Linked DNA regions of Homo sapiens: all the other regions are linked to region 3. The links are contacts of gene promoters, found by promoter capture Hi-C in blood cells and fetal thymus (Javierre and others, 2016). All regions are on one chromosome and are shown on one strand. Each heading gives the region's core, a stretch centred on a gene start or on the middle of the fragment in contact. The rest is flanking DNA. Distances are from core to core; before and after follow the strand shown. Region 1 overlaps LIPC (lipase C, hepatic type). Region 2 overlaps LIPC (lipase C, hepatic type). Region 3 holds the start of MINDY2-DT (MINDY2 divergent transcript). Region 4 overlaps LIPC (lipase C, hepatic type).

What was found. The method cuts DNA at HindIII sites, captures the fragments that hold promoters and counts their contacts. A CHiCAGO score of 5 or more calls a contact.
Region 1: a contact is called between a fragment that was not itself captured here and the fragment with the promoter of MINDY2-DT in region 3, in 4 of 17 cell types (total CD4 T cells, erythroblasts, fetal thymus and 1 more). The highest score is 8.0, in total CD4 T cells.
Region 2: a contact is called between a fragment that was not itself captured here and the fragment with the promoter of MINDY2-DT in region 3, in 1 of 17 cell types (fetal thymus). The highest score is 8.4, in fetal thymus.
Region 4: a contact is called between a fragment that was not itself captured here and the fragment with the promoter of MINDY2-DT in region 3, in 1 of 17 cell types (naive CD4 T cells). The highest score is 5.4, in naive CD4 T cells.

What each region holds. Positions count from the first base shown.
Region 1 is chr15:58,437,831-58,441,341 of GRCh38, forward strand. The region is part of intron 1 of LIPC (lipase C, hepatic type); the gene reads left to right. The region is part of intron 2 of LIPC-AS1 (LIPC antisense RNA 1); the gene reads right to left. Among named protein-coding and RNA genes, the nearest start is that of LIPC, 7.6 kb to the left of the region's middle. RefSeq lists a silencer at 1,185-1,425. The HindIII fragment of the contact is 7,142 bases long and covers 1-3,511 here.
Region 2 is chr15:58,462,802-58,466,147 of GRCh38, forward strand. The region is part of intron 1 of LIPC (lipase C, hepatic type); the gene reads left to right. The region is part of intron 2 of LIPC-AS1 (LIPC antisense RNA 1); the gene reads right to left. Among named protein-coding and RNA genes, the nearest start is that of LIPC, 32 kb to the left of the region's middle. RefSeq lists a silencer at 1,343-1,432. The HindIII fragment of the contact is 1,662 bases long and covers 1,263-2,924 here.
Region 3 is chr15:58,769,183-58,772,552 of GRCh38, forward strand. MINDY2-DT (MINDY2 divergent transcript) reads right to left here and starts at 1,792. Exons shown (of 2, transcript NR_135474.1): 1 at 1,205-1,792. MINDY2 (MINDY lysine 48 deubiquitinase 2) reads left to right here and starts at 2,120. Exons shown (of 9, transcript NM_001040450.3): 1 at 2,120-3,053. The coding sequence starts at 2,214. RefSeq lists an enhancer at 1,057-1,982 and a silencer at 1,795-2,074. The HindIII fragment of the contact is 12,290 bases long and covers 1-3,370 here.
Region 4 is chr15:58,491,102-58,494,250 of GRCh38, forward strand. All of the region lies in intron 1 of LIPC (lipase C, hepatic type), which reads left to right. All of the region lies in intron 2 of LIPC-AS1 (LIPC antisense RNA 1), which reads right to left. Among named protein-coding and RNA genes, the nearest start is that of LIPC-AS1, 6.1 kb to the right of the region's middle. The HindIII fragment of the contact is 801 bases long and covers 1,192-1,992 here.

The DNA of each region.
Region 1 (3,511 bases), core at 836-3,335, 330 kb before region 3:
TCCAGGGAAATTCTATCTTTCCCATGCAAGAGACCCTCCCATCCATGGCCATCCTTCCTAGCCCTACAGCTGAGCAGGTCTGTGGTCCTGCTGAAAGGTCCACCCTGGAGAGACGGGGGACAGCAGCCTGTCCTCCACTCTGCTTGCCTCTCACAGAGACCCAGGACTGGAACCCATATTCTTTCATTCTGAGCTGGAGAGAGAAACTGCAGGGCTGACGGTTGAAGGCATGGGGTCTGTAAGCTGACCCGAAAACATGAATCGCCAAATGAGTGCGCAGCCAAAAGCCAAGAGAATCTGGTACCTGGCTACCCACGATGGCCCTCTCCCTGCCCTCCTCTCCACATCAGCTGCCACAGTGCTGCGGGCATGCTGGGTCATCACAGTTGGCACAGCAGGGAGAGAGGCAGAAAGAGGCTGGGCCCCGAGACAGGGCAGAACAGTCCCCATTTCATCATGAGGGGAATGCAACCACCCAGGCCTCAGCCTGGGTGTCCCTGACAGCCACGGGCTCCACGTAGAACAGAGGTCACAGCGATTCTCACAGCCAGGAAGGTACTGTGCGCTGGCCCCCAGGACAGTGACCAGTTTCGAGTGGGGCGCTCTCAGCTGGGAAATGGGGTCCAACCCACCAGGGAAAAGGGCTGACTAGGGGCCAATAGGACCCTCCAGATCCCTGCCCAGCAGGCTGGACTTCAGTCCCAAGGTGATAACTAGAACAAGGGGGCCGAGCCTAGTCTGTCCAGCAGCGGGTGGAGGAGCCGCGGTAAGAAAGGCAGTCGGGTCTTACATTCAGGTACCTACTTGGGGCGAGAAGACCAAATCCAGTCACTCCAGCCCTGGAGGAGTCAGGGCGCCCACCCGGCTGCCCCACAGAAGGTGCAATTCCTAAACATGGTCACAAAGTAGCGCAGTGACATCTCAGCTGCTTCGGAGTTCCAGGAGAGGGTTTCTGGCTCAGGAGAATGGAGTTTCTGGGTGACTGGAAGATGAGGCTGTTGGCTAACTTCCCTTTCCTTCCCACTTAGGGGTCTATTTCCAGAAGCATTCCTCATTTCATTTTTTCCCCAGTGGGGCTTGGCTAGGGGTGGGGAGGCATGGGGAAAAAGTGAAGAGAAGAGAAGGAAATGCATGGAATGCAAGCGGAGGCCTCTTTGTCTACAGCGTTTTCACCTCCACTTGTGCAGGTTCATATTCAGGGCCTGGTGAAGTCAGTTCTGGCACGGCTCTCCAGTGGACTGGCAGTGGCCCTTAAAAATAGTTCTCAGGAAGATGTGTAGGTGGCGACGCTGAGTAGTGTTTATGTCCCAACATGAAGAGCAGGCCTCATTGTGTGTGTCCTGTGATTACAACTGTGTGAAAATACATGTGTTTGAGAAAAAATGCTGGAAGAAGATGCATGAAAATGTTTATACGTCCGTTGAGTTTGTATCTGAACTTTTGTCTCTTCCCCTCTTTATGTAATGTTATAGTATGTATATGGTATATTGACTTTCATGATTTAAATAATCAGAAAATAAATTTACTACGAAATGATAAAATAAAGGAGTTTGACTAGATCAGTGATCCTGGAACTGTAGTGGGTAATGAAGCACCTAAAAGGCTGCTTTTTTTGTTTGTTTGTTTTTCCTGAGACGGAGTCTTGCTCTGTCGCCCAGGCTGGAGTGCAGTGGCACAGTCTTGGCTCGCAGCAACCTCTGCCTCCCGGGTTCAAGCAGTTCTCCTGCCTCAGCCTCCTGAGTAGCCGCGATTACAGACACACAACACCACGCCCAGCTATTTTTTGTACTTTTAGTAGAGATGGGGTTTCACCATGTTGGCCAGGCTGGTCTCGAACTCTTGACTTCGTGATCTGCCCGCCTCAGCCTCCCAAAGTGCTGGGATTACAGGCGTGAGCCACCGCCCCCGGCCAGGGCTTATTAAAATAAGATTCTGGGGCCCTAACTACAGAGTTGCTGATTCAGTGAGCCTGGGGTAGACTTGGATATTTACGTTTCTCAGCAGTTCCCAAATGATGCTGCTGGTGTGGGGACCACAGAGAACCACTAGAGAAAAAACAAAAGAACCAAGACTTGAAACTAGGTTACTGACTTCCAGGCTAGGGTGCTTCCTACAGAAACAACACGAGGCTACAGGGCAAACCTCACTTCACTTCTAACTTTCTAGGGTTGAAGGGGTGAGAATCAACATCCACTGCTCCTGGATACTGACTTCTTCCCCAGTAGCTACAACCCCAAAAGTATTTAAAACCCCAAGATATTTGTGAAAATGTATTTGTCCAAAATAAAATATCTACATGCTAAAAAGAAAGCAGTCCTTGAAATGAACAAAAATTCCCAAGCTGAGCATTACTTGTAATTGGTAGAAAAATAATCATTGCAAAAGCTAATTAACCATCCACCCTGAGCGGCTCCTTGGCAGGCCTGAAAATATGATCAGGAAAATTCTTTTCCTATGAGTGAGGCATTATCAAAGCAGGGCAGAGCCTATGGGTTATCCGTTGACTAGGACTGACCTTTCCGTGACTGCCAAAAACTTTCCAGTGACAAATGTTCCAGCTTCCTTGTCCCAAGAGAAACTAAAGTGGTAAGAAAACAAACTGCTTTATACTGAAACATAACAAGATCAACAGCAGCTGTGACAGCATTTATTAAACTGTCCGCTGTGTACCAGGCCCCATGGTCAGTAGGAAAGTATATCCCTGAGGGTACAAAAATGAAAAAGCGTACATCCACTCACCAAGGACTTCCCACTGTGCCAGGGTCTCTAGCCCCTTATGGGGTGTGTGTGGGGGCAGGGAGGTTGGAGATTGGGAGAGGCGCATAATTTCAACACAATGCAATTAGTTTGTAAATAACACTACATGCAAAATGTTACAAGAGCCCTGAGGCAGCGCAGGTTAGCTGAGAAGCCTTTACAGAGGAGGTGATATCTGAGTTGAATCTTGAAGTTTCCTTCAAGAAGTGGAAGGACATTGTAAGCAGAGGGAAAAAAAACATGAACCAGCCTTGCTTGACTCAGAGGCTGGAAAAGGGAGAGTGAAGTTGGGAATTCTTGAGATTTTGGGGTGGCCCTGGATGGGGTACATAAAAAGAAGTGGCCAGAGGGAAGGACAGGAAGGGCCATCCTCAGAAGTTTTGTCCTCATCCTGGAGGCAGGGCAGACCACTGATGAGGGGGGTTGTTTTTAAAAGGCTGCCTTTCCCAGATGGATTGATAGACTTATCTCAGCCTGGCTAAAACCCTGGCCACTCCCTGATAGAGAACAAGGTTCCCAGCAGGCAAGGGCAGGGGTGGGGCCCAGCAGGGACCAGTTTTGCAAGCTCACCTGGCCCTACACCCGCAAACACTCAGCTTTTCCTCCAAGACAAGCCTCAAGGCTTGGAGCAAGTCTCTTTGAAGTTTTCTTATGAATTGCTATGCTTAACACTAAATCATGGGAAAGATTAACACCCATGAAACTGAAGCAGGAGCACATAACAGGAGCTTAATATGAATCTTCCATCTTAAAA
Region 2 (3,346 bases), core at 844-3,343, 310 kb before region 3:
AGCTCTGGCCTCTCGGCAGAGGGGGCAGGCCTGAAGAACCCTTTCCAAGACCAGCTGAGCTCTGCTGGTCCGCTGGGCCCTGCCTGCAGAGTTATTGGCGGAGTTATTCTTGGTGCTCATTAGCACTGCACAGGCTGTGGATTATTCCTTTATTGCTAAGTGGCCCCCAGAACACTGCAGACTCATCCCTCCTTTTGAAGTCCTTGTAAAAGACTCCAAGAAGTCGATTCCAATCTCTTCTCTCCCAGCGTGGACTGCCCCTGGAGCAGCACTGGGGGTGTGTGGCTGTTAGAGTGGCAGCCAAGGGCCAGCTCCCCAGTGAAAGGTGATATTGTGCTTCTACCGCACACCTGCACGTTGGGATGGTGTTTGCCTTCCGGCCTGACTGCTCTGTTCTCATCTTCCATGGACATGGAGGTGGGAGGGGAACTTATGTGTCATTCACTCCAGGGTCCTGATGGCCACTTGCGTAGAGCAAAGAATGTTGGTAGGGCCTGCAGTCTAGGTTCTAGCTTCAGTGAGCTCTGGGGCCTCGGGAAAAGGGCTTGATCCCTCAGAACATCTGCAGGAGTCTGTGACCCAGACCACACCAAGCTTTCAGAAACTGCTCTGCTCTTTTACTCTCCCACTCCTCTCCACCCTCTCAAGCTGTGCTATATCCACAATGCACCAGCCCAGGCTGACTCAACTTCCCGCCCACTGCTCCCCTTTAAGCTACAGCACCCACCATTTTGCCCCAAACTCGTCTATCCTACCTGAGCTCCTGCAGCCAGACTGGGTCACCCATGCCCCTCCTCTAACCAGGAAAGAAAGGAAAGAATCCATCAGGTCTTTTCTGTGTCCTGAGATTGCGCAGGTATTCACCCGCTCCACTCCCATCTCCTTGACCTCTTTCTTGCCCTGTTTCTCGGCGACCTAGGCATTGGGTCCTGGTCAGTTTTCCACTTTTCCATCACTCCCTTAGGACCCCTCAACCTCTCTGCTCATCAAAAAAGTCCAATAAAGGCATTCATCTCTTTGAATACTTAATTTTACAGTACCTCTTGCATAACTTTCAAGTTTGAGGTCAATACAAATAAAATCATTTAAAATGTCTGATATTAAACACTTCTGACCCGAAAAGCAAAAAGCCTTTTAACAGATAGTTACATTGATACAAGAGTCCACAATGACAGGTTTCAAAGATGAAAGTAATGGATCAGTAAATAGAACAGTAGAGAAAACACAGATGAAAGGCAAATAACCCCACCTGAAAAATCCAAAGCTTTCATTTTTTTTGAAAAAAAAATTGTCAAAAGCACTGTATTATTTTTTAAAATCATGATAAAAGGAGCATGCACCTGTCACCCTCCCAACCCCCTCTATACTTGCCCCTTTCTATCTTTAAGTGCTGTGGTCTTTGTGGTGACTTTATTGGCTCAAGTTTCCTAGGCTGGTACTCTCAGAGCCTGGTTTCCTAGGAGCAGTACTCATAACGCAGGTGCGATGGACACCTGTAGGTGGGTAGTGCCGCCTGTGTGAACCAACTCGGCTCCAAAGAGCCTAACTCCCTATCTGCATGGTTAATCCAATCAAAGCCCAACCTGCTTTCCCACACAACAGAGTTCAACAGAGCTTTTCATTAAAGCAACACATCATAGCAAATACTTAACTAGTACAAATAAAGCATTTTATTTAAAGCAAGGTTTAAAGACATATAAACATTAAGCATCAGAGCTCCATTCTTTAGTTGCTATTCATCACAGCTTATGCCAGTCCTTGAATTCTGTCTAACTTGGGTAGTAGCCAATTTTCTAACTCACCTTCAACTTCTTGGGATGAGTCCTTCCCGGGCTCCTTGTTTTTCTAGAAATTTCAGTGGCTTGACCACACATCAAAACACACAGGGTGGCCAGGCATGGTGGCTCACACCTGTAATCCCAGCACTTTGGGAAGCCAAGGCGGGCAGATCATCTGAGGTCAGGGGTTCAAAACTAGCTTGGGCAACATGGTGAAACTCGGTCTGTACTAAAAATACAAAAGTTAGCTGGGTGTGGTGGTGTGCACCTGTAGTCCCAGCTACTCAGGAGACTGAGGCAGAAAAATCGCTTGAACCTGGGAGGTGGAGGTTGCAGTGAGCCAAGACTGTGCCACTGTACTCCAGCCTGGGCAACAGAGTGAGACTCTGTCTCAAAAATGGGGAGCGAGGGGGGAGCCCACCACACAACAAAACATATAGGGCTTCTCATCTAAAGTCCGAATAAAAGAATAATACTATGGCTGGTTTGCACTGGAGGAAAGAAAAGCCCTATCACTGCTACCTTACTTTTCTGATGTTTTGGGTTCCTATGTCTTATCCCCTCAGGAACCAGGGGAAAAAGAAGATTCTGTGTCAAGTGCACCCTACATCTGTCCATGTCACCCCCCTTCTTCCAATCAGAACAACTCATTTCCCCCACTTGACTGCTCCCCTAATCTTTGCACCTTGGAGCAGGATGTGTTTATTGATTGATGGATATTTACTTATAATTGGTACCTCTTATGAAAGCCAACAGTTTTTACATCTGGCTTTTAACACAGACTGTGCTCTTCAATAGTCTTAGTGTAGACTGAAGGTTTTTCAAATTCACATTTTTAGAAAAGAGTTCCATTAAATTCCACATGAACAACAGAAAAAAATTTAAATGGGACATTACAGTGATCAATTATAGATTGTAGGACATGACTGACATGTAGGGCTGGGCTGGGAGGAAGAGACAAAGACCAAATGCTCAACCAAGGGCAGAGGTGAGGTGTAGATTACGGGTCAGAACCGTAACATAACGGATGGAGTCCCAAGTGAATCCAGGAAGTTGGAGGAAGCAGGTAAGTACTTGGGTTAGGCATTCACAGGCCTAGGAAGTCAGCTGGGGCAGGAAGGCTCAGACAAGGCAAGGGGACCAGGAAGCTTGGACCCGTCCTGGGAAGATAGAGTCCAAGAGGGCAGTCATCACCGGTCCCACACTAAAAGCATCAAAGCTCTCTAATCTTCTGTCTTCTCTACTCTCTCTGGTGTGTTGTCAAGGAAGGAATAGGTACGTGGGAAACTAGGGAGACAATCATAGCCCTCGATGTCTACCGTTTCTAATTAATACAGGGCAGAGGAATTAGATCTTTTGGTAGAGATCTAAAATTCCTCTGAAGTTCTATCAAGCCCCATCTCCTGATGATTCAGTGCTAGTTCTAAAATAGGAAAACTTACTTCCAAAACCAACAGATGTTTGGGCTGTCATCATTATGCCTGTACTAAACTCACTTGTGATTTCACTGTGAAGTCCTGTCTGTGTAATTTATTAGGAATCATTTATGTAAGATTATGTAGAAAATG
Region 3 (3,370 bases), core at 542-3,041:
GTATCATGTCAATGCGGATCACAAGGTCAGAAGTTAGAGACCAGCCTGGCCAAGGTAGTGAAACCTCGTCTTTACTAAAAATACAAAAAAAATTAGCTGGACCTGGTGGCGTGCGCCTGTAGTCCCAGCTACTTGGGAGGCTGAGGCAGGAGAATCACTTGAACCCGGGAGGTGGAGGTTGCAATGAGCTGAGATGGCGCCACTGTACTATAGCCTGGGTGACAAAGCGAGACTGCGTCTCAAGTGGGAAAAAAAAAAAAAAAAAAAAAAAAAGGGGCACAGTCTTCTGCATTCTCAGGTAAACAAGAATATAAGTATCCAACATTCATGTATTATATGTAATACATATTATGTGTGGCCGGGCATGGTGGCTCACGCCTGTAATCCTAGCACTTTGGGGGCCGAGGTGGGCAGATCACGAGGTCAGGAGATCAAGACCATCCTGGCTAACACGGTGAAACCCCGTCTCTACTAAAAATACAAAAAGTTAGCTGGGCGTGGTGGCGGGCGCCTGTAGTCCCAGCTACTCAGGAGGCTGAGGCAGGAGAATGGCGTGAACCCGGGAGGCGGAGCTTGCAGTGAGCCGAGATCGCGCCACTGCACGCCAGCCTGGGCGACAGAGCAAGACTCCGTCTCAAAAACAACAACAACAACAAATTAGCCAGGCATGGTGGCGGGCGCCTATAGTCCCAGCTACTCGGGAGGCTGAGGCAGGAGAATCGCTTGAACCCGGGAGGCGGAGGTTGCAGTGAGCCAAGATCGTGCCACTGCACTCCAGCCTGGGCGACAGAGAGAGACTCCGTTTCAAAAAAAAAAAAAAACAAAAGCAAAAACAAAAACAAAAAAACATATAAGTATGTATTAAAAAATAGCAATAAGAAAAAAAAAGACAGTAAGCTCCATGAAGATATAAGCTCCGTGATCCACTATGGCATCTCCAGTGACAGACAGCATCCAGCAACTTACTTGGTACTAAAATGTATTAAAGGAATGAATGAAATACTACTTTGCAATCTTGTCTGCCTTCTCTAACCAACAGAGGTGCAAAAATATCACATTCTAATTATGTATCAGGTATTTATATGTCTGCGAAGGAAGACCTGTCTCGTTAATTTTTTATCCCCAACAGCCTAGAAAATGTTGAAAGAAAAAAGATGGGGGAAAAAGCCCTTTTCTGTAACAAGTTAGAATAGGACCCACATACATTTTGTTACTAACAAAACGTCCAGCTTGTCTTTCTTCTTTGAAAACTGCATGGCCTTAAGAGGAGTCCATTCTAATTAGGAAAAAAGTCACCTTTTCAGAAGCAGGCGCTTCCCACTCCATGCAAAGTGAAGCCAAGTTAGCAAAACCGCAAAGACTTGGCTAATTCAAATACAAGCTAATTTATTATTATTGGCGCAAATTAGCCACTTTCTTTTGCTACGCATGTCAATGTCCACAATCATACCGACCCTTTCCTGTAGGGCGAATGTCTCACCAGTAGCTGGTGAGAAGCACAGCTCTTCTCAGCCAAAACCGACAGAGACTGGAATTTGTGCAGTGCAGTAATCCAAAGCCGTCGAGTAGATATGCCTGCTTTAAAATCTGCATCTCGTAAGAAATGCCTTAATTTTCCATATTAGGAGCTGAGAAACCAAGTCCCCTGAGCCCTTCAGGGACAAGTTCTTTTCCAAATACTACAACCACCTCCAACCACCCAACAATGCCTCAGGCCGAGGGTGGGCCACACGCGACCCAGCGCTAAAGGGTCACAGCCAAGCTGTCCGCCTCCTGCCTTCCCTTTAAAGAAGCCGCACACAAGGGAGCTGCCCGGGAGTTCAACTTCCGGCCACATAGTGAGAGGATGTTTTCCTACTGGAGCTGAGCCGCGGGGGCGCGCCCCCCGGCCGCGCCCTCCTAGCCACGCCCTCCACGCCCGGCCTTCCGAGAGCGAGCTCGGTCGGACGCACGGAAAGGGCTGGGCCACGTGGGCGGCTGCTGAGTGGTTCGCCTTCGCCTCTCAGCGCGCAGTCAGGCGGAGGCAAGCTCAGAGCGCACGGACAGAGCGGTAGCGCGCGCCCGCGCGCGTTCTTAGTACTCTCCCCGGTGACGTGCCTGACCGAGGCCGCGCCAGGGCGCTGTTGCTGCCAATACAGCTGTCATGGCGTCCAAGGCGCTGGCTGCGGAGAAGTGGCCGCGGTCTCCATAGAGCTGGGGGCGGGCGGCCCGGTATGGAGAGCAGCCCCGAGAGCCTGCAGCCGCTAGAACACGGGGTGGCGGCCGGGCCAGCGTCAGGGACAGGTTCTTCGCAGGAAGGGCTACAGGAGACCAGGCTCGCCGCTGGTGATGGTCCTGGGGTATGGGCGGCGGAGACCAGCGGCGGGAATGGGCTGGGGGCGGCGGCCGCCAGGAGGAGCCTCCCGGACTCGGCTTCTCCCGCGGGCTCTCCTGAGGTTCCCGGACCCTGCAGCTCCTCCGCGGGTTTGGACTTGAAGGACAGTGGTTTGGAGAGTCCTGCTGCCGCCGAGGCGCCTCTGAGAGGGCAGTACAAGGTGACCGCCTCCCCGGAGACAGCCGTGGCCGGAGTGGGTCATGAGTTGGGTACCGCCGGAGACGCGGGAGCCCGCCCGGATCTCGCCGGCACCTGCCAAGCAGAACTGACCGCCGCCGGCTCCGAAGAGCCCAGCAGCGCCGGCGGCCTCAGCAGCAGTTGCAGCGACCCGAGCCCTCCTGGGGAATCTCCGAGCCTGGACTCTCTGGAGTCGTTCTCTAACCTGCATTCTTTTCCCAGTAGCTGCGAGTTCAATAGTGAGGAGGGAGCGGAGAACAGGGTCCCTGAGGAGGAGGAGGGCGCGGCGGTGTTGCCCGGGGCTGTTCCTCTGTGCAAGGAGGAGGAGGGGGAGGAGACCGCTCAGGTGCTGGCGGCCTCCAAGGAACGCTTCCCGGGACAATCTGTGTATCACATCAAGTGGATCCAGTGGAAGGAAGAGAACACACCCATCATCACCCAGAATGAGAACGGACCCTGCCCCTTGCTGGCCATCCTCAATGTTTTGCTCCTGGCCTGGAAGGTACATTCTGCAGCTTTCTACTTCCTACAGCTTTTGGGGTGGAGGAAAACGGGGTGAGGGAGCTGCTGCATGTCAGGTGATGGCTTCCTTTCTTTCCTCATTCATCAGTCCCCTTCTTACATGAAATTCATTCCAAGACTTCCATGTTGAAGGAATATTCCTTTATACATATATCGAAAAGAATTGCCCCTAACCTCAGTCTTCTCTTGTAGTGTTTAAGAGTTCAACATTCAATTGTGGTTGATACACTTAGAAACAAGAAGGACTTAGAGCATCTTAAATCTTATGATTATTTTAAACTATAATTTCCTACATTT
Region 4 (3,149 bases), core at 342-2,841, 280 kb before region 3:
GTCTGAATTCTTAGCTCCTGACAGCCAGGCCGCAAGAGGACAGACATCCCGTGCACACACGCCCGCCCCATCGCCAAAGAAAGCTCTAGAGCTAGACACTTAGACTGGCCTTTCATGAAATGACAGCACCTGCCAAACACAATAGGGAAATAGTTAGTCCAGCCAGGCAGTGCCATAGAGTGGTCAGAGCATGGGAATTTCAAGCAGACAGCAGCAGGCTTTAATCCTCACTCTACTCTCCCCAGATGTGTCACCAAGGCAAGTCACTCAGCTTCTCTGAGGCTCAGTTTCCTGGCCTGTAGAGTGGGAATAATTATAATACTATCTTGGTTGTCAGGTTTAAAAGACCAAATGAATGTCACTGCCTGGCAGACTACTTAAAACAATAAGAGGTGCTAAAGTTACTTTAAACCAACCCTCTCCACCCTCTCCTTCCCCACCTCAGTTTCATACCCCAGAGACCAAATTCCTGATGGATTCCTAAATGATATCTCTGCCAAATACTGGTGCCAGGTGCTGGGCAAGGCACAGTTTTGCAACCAGCTGTCAGGCAGCAACAACTTCACAGTCGTACTTTTATTCAGTGTGTGGTAAAACTTCTGGGACAAGAGTCAAAGTCGTAGGGCTTTAGTGGGAAACTGCCATTGCCTGACCAGAGGTACAAAGCACTGGCCCTTCCCTCATCCCTGGCCTGACCTAAGAGGGCTGGGGTACCACAGGACTGTTGACCCCACTGAGAGCTCAGGGTGCCAGAAACACTGCCTGCCACGTGATTCCTATTGGTCCTTCCAGAGATGCTAACAGGCCTGGAGGCTGGAGGTCTCTCTGCCCACACTTTCACACATGACCTGGAGCAGGGGGTCCCAGCTCTGTAGCTGCATTTCTGACCCAGTTGGATACCTTGACATGGTCCCAGCAAGCAACAGAGCACCCATTGTACAGCCTTCCCCAGCCCCAGAGAGGGACTGTCCCTGCCAAGAACAGAGGTGCCACCCAGAATCTGACAGCAGGGGAGGCTCCCCAAGCATTCTACCCAGAAGAACAAGCACCCTCCCCAGATGGCCTGTGGCCCACCCTGCCCTCAGTTCCTAGCAGATCCTCAACTTGGCCTGCTTTGATGTTTGTGAATGGCAGGTAGGAAAGGTCAGGCAAGTGGAAGAAACCTAAAACCATGCTCTCTATGGCCATGGAAGCTTCCTAGGTATTATTACATAGCTGTAGTATATTAATATTACTGTCATTAATTGATATTATTGTAATGTTACTATAATATACATAGCCATAATATAAACACATTATAAAGCTGTAATAGCTTATCTTTATTCTACTATGTGGCAAGTCTGTACTAAGCATTCTCCTACTCTAAACCCCCACAAAAGTATTAGCTATGAACTATCATTGAATTTCGTTTTACAAACAAGGACAATCCAAAGAGGCCAAGTTACCTGCCCAAGGCCACACAGTCCACAAGAGCCCAAGTTCCCACTCAGGCCCATTCTTTTAGCTCTGTGCCACCCAGCTCTGCAAATGTAGCCACCCAAAGCCAATCAAGCCAGTGGTAGAGTTCTAAAACCAAATCTAGGGCTCTGTCCCACCAATCTCCACCTGGTGCCTGGAATTCCTCTATTTTTGTTTTTTGTTCTGTTTTGTTTTAAAGTTTCACTCACCCCCCTCCTTAAACCCAAATATCCCTGGGACAGGATGGAAATCCATAAACAGGTGCCTGAGTAAGACATCATTCACAGAGCCTTTTCCTCCTGACAGCTGGCCAAGAACAGGAGAGGGGGCCCTGGGCAAATCTGCAGGATTACATCAGAGCTTATTTTCCCCCGTATGCCCCTAATTTTCTACATGCTCTTCCATTCCTGATGGATTCCTAAATGATATCTCTGCTAAATCCTGGCGCCAGGTGCTCTTCCATTCTCCCAGTGATCCAGAACTTTCTTGCTGTCATGAAGAAAACTGATTTAATAAGTAAACTCATACTTAGGAAGCTTCCCATCCACCCTGGCCCCCCATGGTATCTCACATCATCATCAGACCAAAAGAACCCATACCCTCATCAGTGATGACTCAGCAAAATCAACTTCACATGATTAGGAAGCTCACATAACTAGCAAGGCGAGGAGGTTCTCTCTGCCGGCCACCTCCTCCCGCCAGCACTCCACCACAGCCTGCCTACTGTCTGCCCGTTTGGACTAGCAGCTGGTGCTGTGGGATCTTTAACTCCACTGAAATTATGTCACAAAACTGGGGCATCGTAGGGAACCTAGGAAAACAGACAAGAAATAAAGACTCCATATGTGCCTGGCCCACACCCGAGTTTGGCTCACTATGCACACATTAGATCCTGCCATTCACAATTTAAAATATATATATATTTTTTTGTGTATATATACATATATACACACCTAGAAAAAAAGTATGTATTTTGTATATATACAAAATTTATTACATATAAATAAAATTTATACAAAATTTATTACGTATAAATAAAATTTATACAAAATTTATTACGTATAAATAAAATTTATACAAAATTTATTACGTATAAATAAAATTTATACAAAATTTATTACGTATAAATAAAATTTATACAAAATTTTGTATATATTTGTATATGTGAAATATTTTTTAAATGTTAATATATCTATAATATTTATATATTTGAATATATAAGTTTATATATATTTATATGGCTCACTATAAAAGAAATTGAAACCTCCTTAAGCATGAACAACTCCCACGGGTGTTTTCTTCATGAGACGCACAGGAAGATGGCAATGGGTACTGAAAGGAATGAATTGCTTGTGGGGGAACTTTATTTACTAGAACAACCCCAGGTAGGAGGAGAGGTTTTAAGAAATGAGAGTAGGGGTTCTGGAGGAGGTCACCTTGCCTCCTAGTACAGAGGTAAGACTCCACTGAGGCTGGAGAATAATGCTCATGAGGAGATTGGCAGGCCCCAGATCCCTGCAGCTACTGGGACAGAGGCTTCAGTTCCTTGCCATGGGGGCCTCTCCCTAAAGCTGCTCACAACATGGCAGTTGGCTTCTCCCACAGCAAGAGAGAGAATCCCCAGAGAGAGCAAGAGGCTCCACAATGGAAGGCCTAGTCTTTCACAATCTAATCCCAGCAGTGACATACCC